Regions from separate parts of the Homo sapiens genome. Here region 1 is linked to region 2. Evidence: promoter capture Hi-C in human tissues and cell types (Jung and others, 2019). All regions are on one chromosome and are shown on one strand. Each heading gives the region's core, a stretch centred on a gene start or on the middle of the fragment in contact. The rest is flanking DNA. Distances are from core to core; before and after follow the strand shown. Region 1 overlaps GRM1 (glutamate metabotropic receptor 1). Region 2 holds the start of RAB32 (RAB32, member RAS oncogene family).

The links. The method cuts DNA at HindIII sites, captures the fragments that hold promoters and counts their contacts. A contact is called where the count stands out against the background at its distance.
Region 1: a fragment that was not itself captured here is called in contact with the fragment with the promoter of RAB32 in region 2 in 2 of the 25 tissues and cell types used here (mesendoderm cells and thymus).

What each region holds. Positions count from the first base shown.
Region 1 is chr6:146,189,736-146,193,503 of GRCh38, reverse strand. All of the region lies in intron 2 of GRM1 (glutamate metabotropic receptor 1), which reads right to left. Among named protein-coding and RNA genes, the nearest start is that of GRM1, 160 kb to the right of the region's middle. The HindIII fragment of the contact is 3,268 bases long and covers 333-3,600 here.
Region 2 is chr6:146,542,516-146,546,419 of GRCh38, reverse strand. RAB32 (RAB32, member RAS oncogene family) reads right to left here and starts at 2,587. Exons shown (of 3, transcript NM_006834.5): 1 at 2,299-2,587. The coding sequence starts at 2,548. RefSeq lists a silencer at 2,634-3,013. The HindIII fragment of the contact is 12,240 bases long and covers 976-3,904 here.

The DNA of each region.
Region 1 (3,768 bases), core at 717-3,216, 350 kb after region 2:
CCACTCACTCCAGTTGTACTTTTTTTCACTCGGCTTTAGGACACCACACTCTCCTAGGTGTTAATCTCCCTCTCATTGGCTGCAGTGTCTCAGTCTCTTTACTTGCTTGTAGTTATTTTCTCATGGTCTAGATGTCACAGTACCCCAGGGTTCAGTCCTTGGACAACATCCCTTCTCTAAATTCCACTCACAACCTTGATGATCTCATCCAGACACATGATTTCAAATAGTATATATATCCTAATGACTCCCAAATGTGCATCTTCAGCCCAGAGCTCACCTTTGAATTTAGACTTGTATATCTAACTGTCTATTTAACATCTTCACATCCATAATAATAGGCATCTTAAATTTAATATACTCAAAATTTATCTTTCTCTGTTCTAGTCCACAAACCTACCCCACTTAGGGGCATCCTCATCTCAGAAAATGGCAAATCCATTTTTCCAGTCGCTTGGTACAACAAAAAATTTTTACCTTACATCCAGTAGTTAACAAAACCTGTTGCCTCTACCATGAACTCTATCCTTAATCTGGCCACTTTTCACCCACAACTATTTCTTCTATGCCGGTCATCTTCCTCACAATCACTCACTTGGATGATAGTAAAAGCTCCTTCTTCCAGCTGTGCCCACCTAGAGCCCACAGTCCATATAGCAGGCAGAAAAGCCTGTTTAAAATGTCAGTCAGACCATATGTATAACTAAAAAGTTTCACAAAAATACTTTTTGCTAGTACATACAATTCACTCTAATATTTTCTATTGTATTACATTTAAAAATAAAGATCAGTAAATTGACTTCATAACCCACTAATTGGTCACAACACAGTTTAAATGTGCTGGTTACTGGTTTAGAAAGAGTAAGAATAGTGAGAATTTTGAAAGTAGGCATTTAAGTTGGATGGCAATAATGAAGGGAACAGGAGGATGAGAGAGATAAGCTAACGACAATCATTATTTTAATTTCATACTTACATATATCGGGTATTTTATATGCCAGGAATTCATGCTAAATAATACATTGTTCCTTTTAATCCTTAGCCTAATTGACATATGAGGAACCTGAGGTTTTGTATAAGGCCAAGTGCCTAATAAATTATAGAACCAGAATTCTGACCCAGCTGTGTAGATTTTAGTGCCCAGCTTCTTTAACCAGGGTAACATTTTCCTCCATGTATGTCCCATTATTATTCTACAGTTTGGTTATGCTAATTGTAAACCCAGATAATAATCCCATTTATCCTATTTCAACATACTGTCATATAGTTGTTATGACATATTTATTTCAAAATGTTACCATAACCATTCTCATTAAAAGGAGGATGGCAGAACATTATTATTCCACAGACTTTCCCCTTTTCAATAAGTGAACGCTAGCATTTGGAAATTGTCTTAGACCACAATAAAATTTGTTTACACTGAAAGTTAAGCAATCTTAAATTGTGAGGAGGTTAGTAAGTAGTCTGAATAATTACTTACTTGGTCTTAGCACAAACAAAAGATTGCAATAGATCAATATGTTTATCCCAATTTTTCCAACTACTTATGTGATAAATAGTCCTTTCCCCAGCTTGTTTGTGTGCTGTGTGTTCCCTTTTAAACACAGAGAGAAACCATTTATATTCAGCACAAAAACTTGTCAAAGTTAATCTGTCACGGACCAGAGATTGACTGACAGGAAAGAACAAAAGGTGATAGATTGCTTTTAGTGTCAGCATGAAAGAAAGGAAACAGAAAAGATCCAACCAAAGATGGATACGGGAATGAAGAAAATATCTGAAAAAAAGAAGAGAAATTGGGAAAAGCAAAAGAGATCACACAAAACAAAAAGATTAATTAAAGAAACAAGATAGAAAACAGAAAGGATTCAATATTTTCTCCCTTTATGTAATTATTTAGGTAAAACTGTCAAGTGTGACCCCTTGTAGATGATCATAAAGGGACAGTGATGTGACCCTGAAACTAGGGATGGAGGATTCTTAGAAGCAAATCAAATCCACTTTTAATACTTAAGAAAGATAGCTGAGAAAGGCTTCAGCTTAAGTTGGAAATCAAATCAGTAAGAGGGTTAAACAGAGAGGAATCACCGAAGAGGAAACCATCCAGTAAACCACCTCACTCACTAATAGCACAGGCTTCATCACCTGTGCCAGACACTATGCCAAATGTGCAGGAAGCAAATACAAGCAAGACCTGGTCCTTGCCCTCAAGGAACCCACAATCCAGTAGGGATCACCCCGGTCCACAGACCATCAAGACACCCATGGTAATGCCATGACAGAGAAGACACTGAAAGGAATGGGGGCACGATGGCAAGAAGCCTAATCCAGACTAAGGAAGAGGCTGTGGAGAAGATGAATCAATGAAGCTTCCTGAAAGGGGAACTGACCTAGGCAAAGGAGACTTGGAGACCTTTCCAAACAGCAGAGATAGAGCATGCAGAGGCACAGAGGTGAGAGAGAGAGAATGGCAAGTGCATGGAGGATGAGGCAGCTGTGTGATGATATTGAAGAGGTGGTCTAGGGTCCAATCTTAAGGAGCTATGAATACAATTCCAAGGAGCTTGAACTACATCCCAAAGACTAAAATCAGCCTATAATACGTAAATCAGAGGGGTGATGTGTTTTGATATAGCAATGTGAAGAACAAGTGGGAATACAAACAAGATTGGGGAGAGAGAAAATTGCAATGCTCAGCCAAGAAAGTCAATTAGGAGGTTGTGGCAGTAATCCAAATGAGAAATGATGAAGGCCTGAACTGAAGTAGTGGCAATACGGATGGAGATGAGGAGACAGAGCCAAAAAACCATTGAAGAGGTAAAAACAACAAAACATGGTGACCAAAAATTGTCTTTTCTTATTATTTGTGATTCTATTCCTCTTTTTACTTTTTAAGTTACTTCAACTGTGCAGTAAATATTACCCAGCCTCTTTGTGGCTGTTCCGTAATCTCGTTTTGAGAGAGCTGCTCCTCCTGAATTCGTGTTGGCCAACTCCCTCAAGGTGTGATATCGCCTCGTGTACTTTCTACTTTTTCTCATGAGCTCATTTTTAGTGAAACTTTTTTCCCTTAAGAATCTCATGGACCCCAGTTTGGTTATTACATAATTGTTTCATCTTTGCTTTCTTAACACTCCCAGGATGTTTACTAGTTCAAAATGTTTTAAAATTAGTAGCTTGGCTTGAGGAGTCTAACAAAACATTTATAAACTAACTTCAGACTCCATGCTTATTTGTGGCTCTGGCCTAGGATTTCAGCTTTTCACTGGAAAATTTTATTTCCCACCTAGGATTTTGGTAGAGTCAAGTTCTTTGGTGCTTCTCAGGCAGATGTGAAAATTTTCCCCACTTCCTCTCTTACTCCATTTCTTGTAAAGGTCCAGCTTTAGCATGGTTATTCATTCCCATTTCTTCAATTGAATCCAAGGTCACAGATTCTGTTCCCCAGTGGATACTGAACTCCACTCAACAACTCCAAGGCCCTATACCCGAACTTAATCTAACATTCCTGCCCTCCCATCTTTGAGTTGCCAAAGCAAAACACTGTAACATAGAATTCTGGTTTTAAATTTCCCTTTGACTTTGGCACCATGGGATTTCCCTTCCTTTATTTAACAGTGAAGATTTTGATTAGTTAAAATATATCCATGAATTATATGTGTTATTAGCAGAAGAAAGATTTATGCTACCTCGGTGGAAGGTCAATGTCTAGAGAAGGTTTTCACAGCAGATAGAATCGTAGTGGAGAGAGCCATGACGCTGCTTCTG
Region 2 (3,904 bases), core at 1,338-3,837:
CACTAAGCTATTTTTCTCCCTCATATTCAGAGATATTAAAATTCTATCTCTGAAAATCTTACTTATAATGTGAGCCTAATAATTTCTATAAATTTACCTCTAATTTTGTAAATTGCTGGTCTGTACTTGCTGTATGGGACAACAATACCTGTTGAAACAATATCTAACATCCAGAAATCCCTTTTGGAGATCTTAAACTTTTGTTTTCCTTCCTGGCAAAACTCAAGCTTTGGATTTAGTGAAAAGTACAAGGATATCCCATCTAGGCAGATGTTTATCAGAGTCTGATAAAAAACTAGATATGACCCCTTCCTGTCATTCGAGGTCTGTGATTAATAAAAAAAGAAGAGGTGATACCAGAAAGAAAATTTGTATCTTACTCCTGCTTTTACTTTCTCAAGTTTCTAACTATAAACACTTAAAAATCTAGTTACTCATACTGATTTACCAGCAGTGGGACCCAATCGTAGTTTAATAACAAAATGCCATAATTTACATAAAGAGTAAGGCAAGGTCAATCACCCTTGTAAGCAAGGTTTTAAAACCATCTTTGTGAAAAACCTCAGCTATGCTGCAGATTCCTGGAGAATGACCGTCACATGGTAAGGCAACCTTTAGAATCCATGACTTTGTCAAGAAGCAGAAATACTGCTCATTAGGGTTCTGTGCAACGGCAGGAAGTGTTTCGAAAAAACTTCTGGCTTCAAAGATGACTTTTCAAACGAACTTTTGGTTTTTGGTAACAAAAAACAACAACAAAAAGCTGAGTCCCTGGCTGATTACTCCTTTTTTCTGAGCAACTGAGTTGCATACAGTTATTCTCCTGTCTGAGGGACAGAAATGTGCTCTTAAATGAATGAGTTATAGGTTACAATTATTTACTACTCTTTCTTATGTAACAAGCTATAAATGACAAGAGCACTACCTGGCAGACAGACAGTAGACCTGTGATCCCCCCAACCACTCTGCTACCAGCCAGGTAGCTATACCCTCCATGGGCTTCAGTGTAGGGACTGTAGAATGAAGGGTGGCCTCAGGTGTCCTCTAACCCTAAACCAGCTCCCATTCTAATGCTGTACTGCAGACTGTGCTTCTTAACACCTGTAATGATTGAACAGAGTAATTTTCGTACTTTTTTTTTTTTTTTCTGAGATAGGGTCTCACTCTGTTGACCAGGCTGGAGTACAGCAGTGAGAACACAGCTCACTGAAGCCTTGACCTCTCCTAGGGTCAAGTGATCCTCCTGCCTCAGGCTCCTGAGTAGCTGGGACTACAGGCACGCACGACCACACTTGTCTAATTTTTTGTATGTATGTATGTATATATGTATGTATGTATTTTGTAGAGACAGGGTCTCACTAACAGCCCAGGCTGGTCTCGAACTCCTGTGCTCATGCGATCCTCCAGTCTAGGCCTTCCAAAGTGCTGGGATTACAGGCGTGAGCCACTGGCACTTGGCTTGGTACCATTTCTATGAACTTTCCAATAGTTAACATCATCTTTAAAACGCCCACTCCCAACCACCACACCAGGCAAAGTTCAAGTGTTCATAAATCAGAGCAGAGGGAAATGTACCCCCTCAAACAGAACAAATGAAAGCAAATGGCAGAGAAACACTGTATTGAGGAGTGGGGGGGGGGCGGGGGGGGGCGAGGGCACCAGGGATGGGACTAGGTGTTGGTTTAGCAAGAGAGGAAGGGGTGAGTGTAAGGTTTCAGAAAAGCTTTCCCAAATCTTCACGGAGTGTCTGTCCTCGGCTTCCGATGAGAGCAAAGTATTTGAGGAATGGAGTTTCCCTCACAAAGGCCAGTCTCAGAGCCAAGGCGGGTGGTGGAAAATGATCTGGAAAGGAACCTGGCTTTTGGTCTTGGTGGTGTCACTAACTAGGAGTGCAGCTTCGGGTTAAGTCACCCAATCCCTCTGAACTTGAGTTGAGGCTGAGAGGCGCCGGCCCGCTCCAAAGCAGCCTTCTCAACTAGTCCTGGTGTATGTATGATATACTTGCATTATTCAGAGTTCAAACTTCTGGAAAAGGCCCCCTGGCCTCCTCGCCTCCCTTCAGGAGAGCGAGCTCTGGCGTGCAGGACCTGCTCCAACTCCTACTGCCCATCCCATCCTCTGGGCCCCACCGAGTCCAGCCGACCGCGTCCATCGCATCTCGCCCTTGGATTGGGCCTCTCTCTTCTCCTAAAGGTACCCAGGCAGACGAGTTCAGGCAGAAAAGAAAAAGAAAAGAAGCAGAGAGGAGCCAGGCGGCCCGGCGGGGCTCTGGAGTGGGAAACTCGCGGCCGCGCTTACCCGCGATGTCCCACAGCTGCAGGCGCACCAGAGTCCTGCTGTCCCAGTTGAGGACCTTGAGGGCGAAGTCCACCCCGATGGTGGCCCGGTAGTGCTGGGAGAAGAGCTGGTGGACGTAGCGCTTGATGATGCTGGTCTTGCCCACGCCAAGCTCGCCGATCACCAGCACCTTGAAGAGGTGCTCGCGGGTCTCGGGCGCTGGGGCGGCGGCCGCCCCCAGGCCGGGGTCCCCGGCTCCTCCGCCCGCCATGAGCGCTGCGGCTGTCGGGCGCGCCTCGACTCCGAGTCTGGCCCCCTGCCCGGCCTCGCGCTCTGCCGCCGCGCCCCCGGCGGCCGCGGAAACTCCCCCGAGGCCGGCCAGCCCTCCGCCGCGCCCGCTGACGCCGCCTGACCGGTCACAGGACCCAGAACCCGCCAGTGCTCGCGGCCCGGGCGGGGCCAGACGAGGGCAGGGCCGGACGAGGGCAGGGCCTGGCGCCGGCTTGGGGAGGACCCTGCGCGAGGCGGCTCCCGCCCTGCGCCTCTGAAGCCCGGCCGGGCCCAACTGGACTTCCTCTCCCGGGCGGCGCCTCCGAAGCCCGGCCGGGCCCAGCTGGACTTCCTCTCCCGGGCGGCGCCTCCTGGCGGTCGCGGCGCGGAGGGAGGCCCAGACGCCCGCTGGTGGGCCTCCGGGGAGCCGGCCTGGAGCCTTTATGGGCCCCGGAGGTTCACTGGGGGCCTGAGGAGGCGCCGAGGTCGCTGAGCCCCCCCCGGGGCCGGGGTCGGCGTGGGGTCCGGGCCCAGCCTGGAAGCCTCTGGCCTGGAAATCCACCTCCTGCCCTACTCTCCCCGCAGGGAGAGCCACACTTGCGGGCCTTGGCTTGGGTCGCGAGCAGTCCCCTTTAGATGGGAAAGGAAGTGGCACCGTGACTTTGAACTTAACGAAGGACGGATAACACTGGGCTGGTAGTTCTGTTTTTAACTTTTTGAGTGAACCTCCGTAGGGTTTTCCATAATGGCTGTTCCAGTCCGCATTCCCACCACCAGTGTACAAGGTTCCCTTTGCTCCGCACATCACCGACACTTATTATCGCTTATCTTTTTTATAACAGTCATCCTAGCAGGTGTGAGGAGATACCTAGTGGCTTTTCCCTGTTCATTAGTGATTTTGAGCGCCTTTTCTTATACCTGTTGGCAATTTGTACTTCCTCTGGAAAAAAAAAAAAAGTCCATTCACATCCTTTGCCCGTTAGTTAACTGGGTGTTTTATTTATTTATTTTGGCTGAGTTCTGTGAACGTAATGTATTTTGGATATTAACCCCTTATCAGATATATGGCTCACAAATATTTTCTCCCAATCTATAGGCTGTTTTTTCATTTTGTTGATTATTTCCTATGCGGTGCAGAAGCATTTTAGTTGGATGAAGTCCCATTTATCTAGGTTTGCTTTGGTTGCCTGGGCTTTTGGTGTGATATTGCAAAAATCGTTGCTAAAGCCAGTGACCCAGCTATCCCTCTTCTGGGTGTATACTCAAAGGAAATGAAATCAGGATCTCAGAAATCGCTCTCAAGTTCATGCAGCATTATTCACAGTTGCGAAGATTTGGAAACAACCAAAGTGTCTGT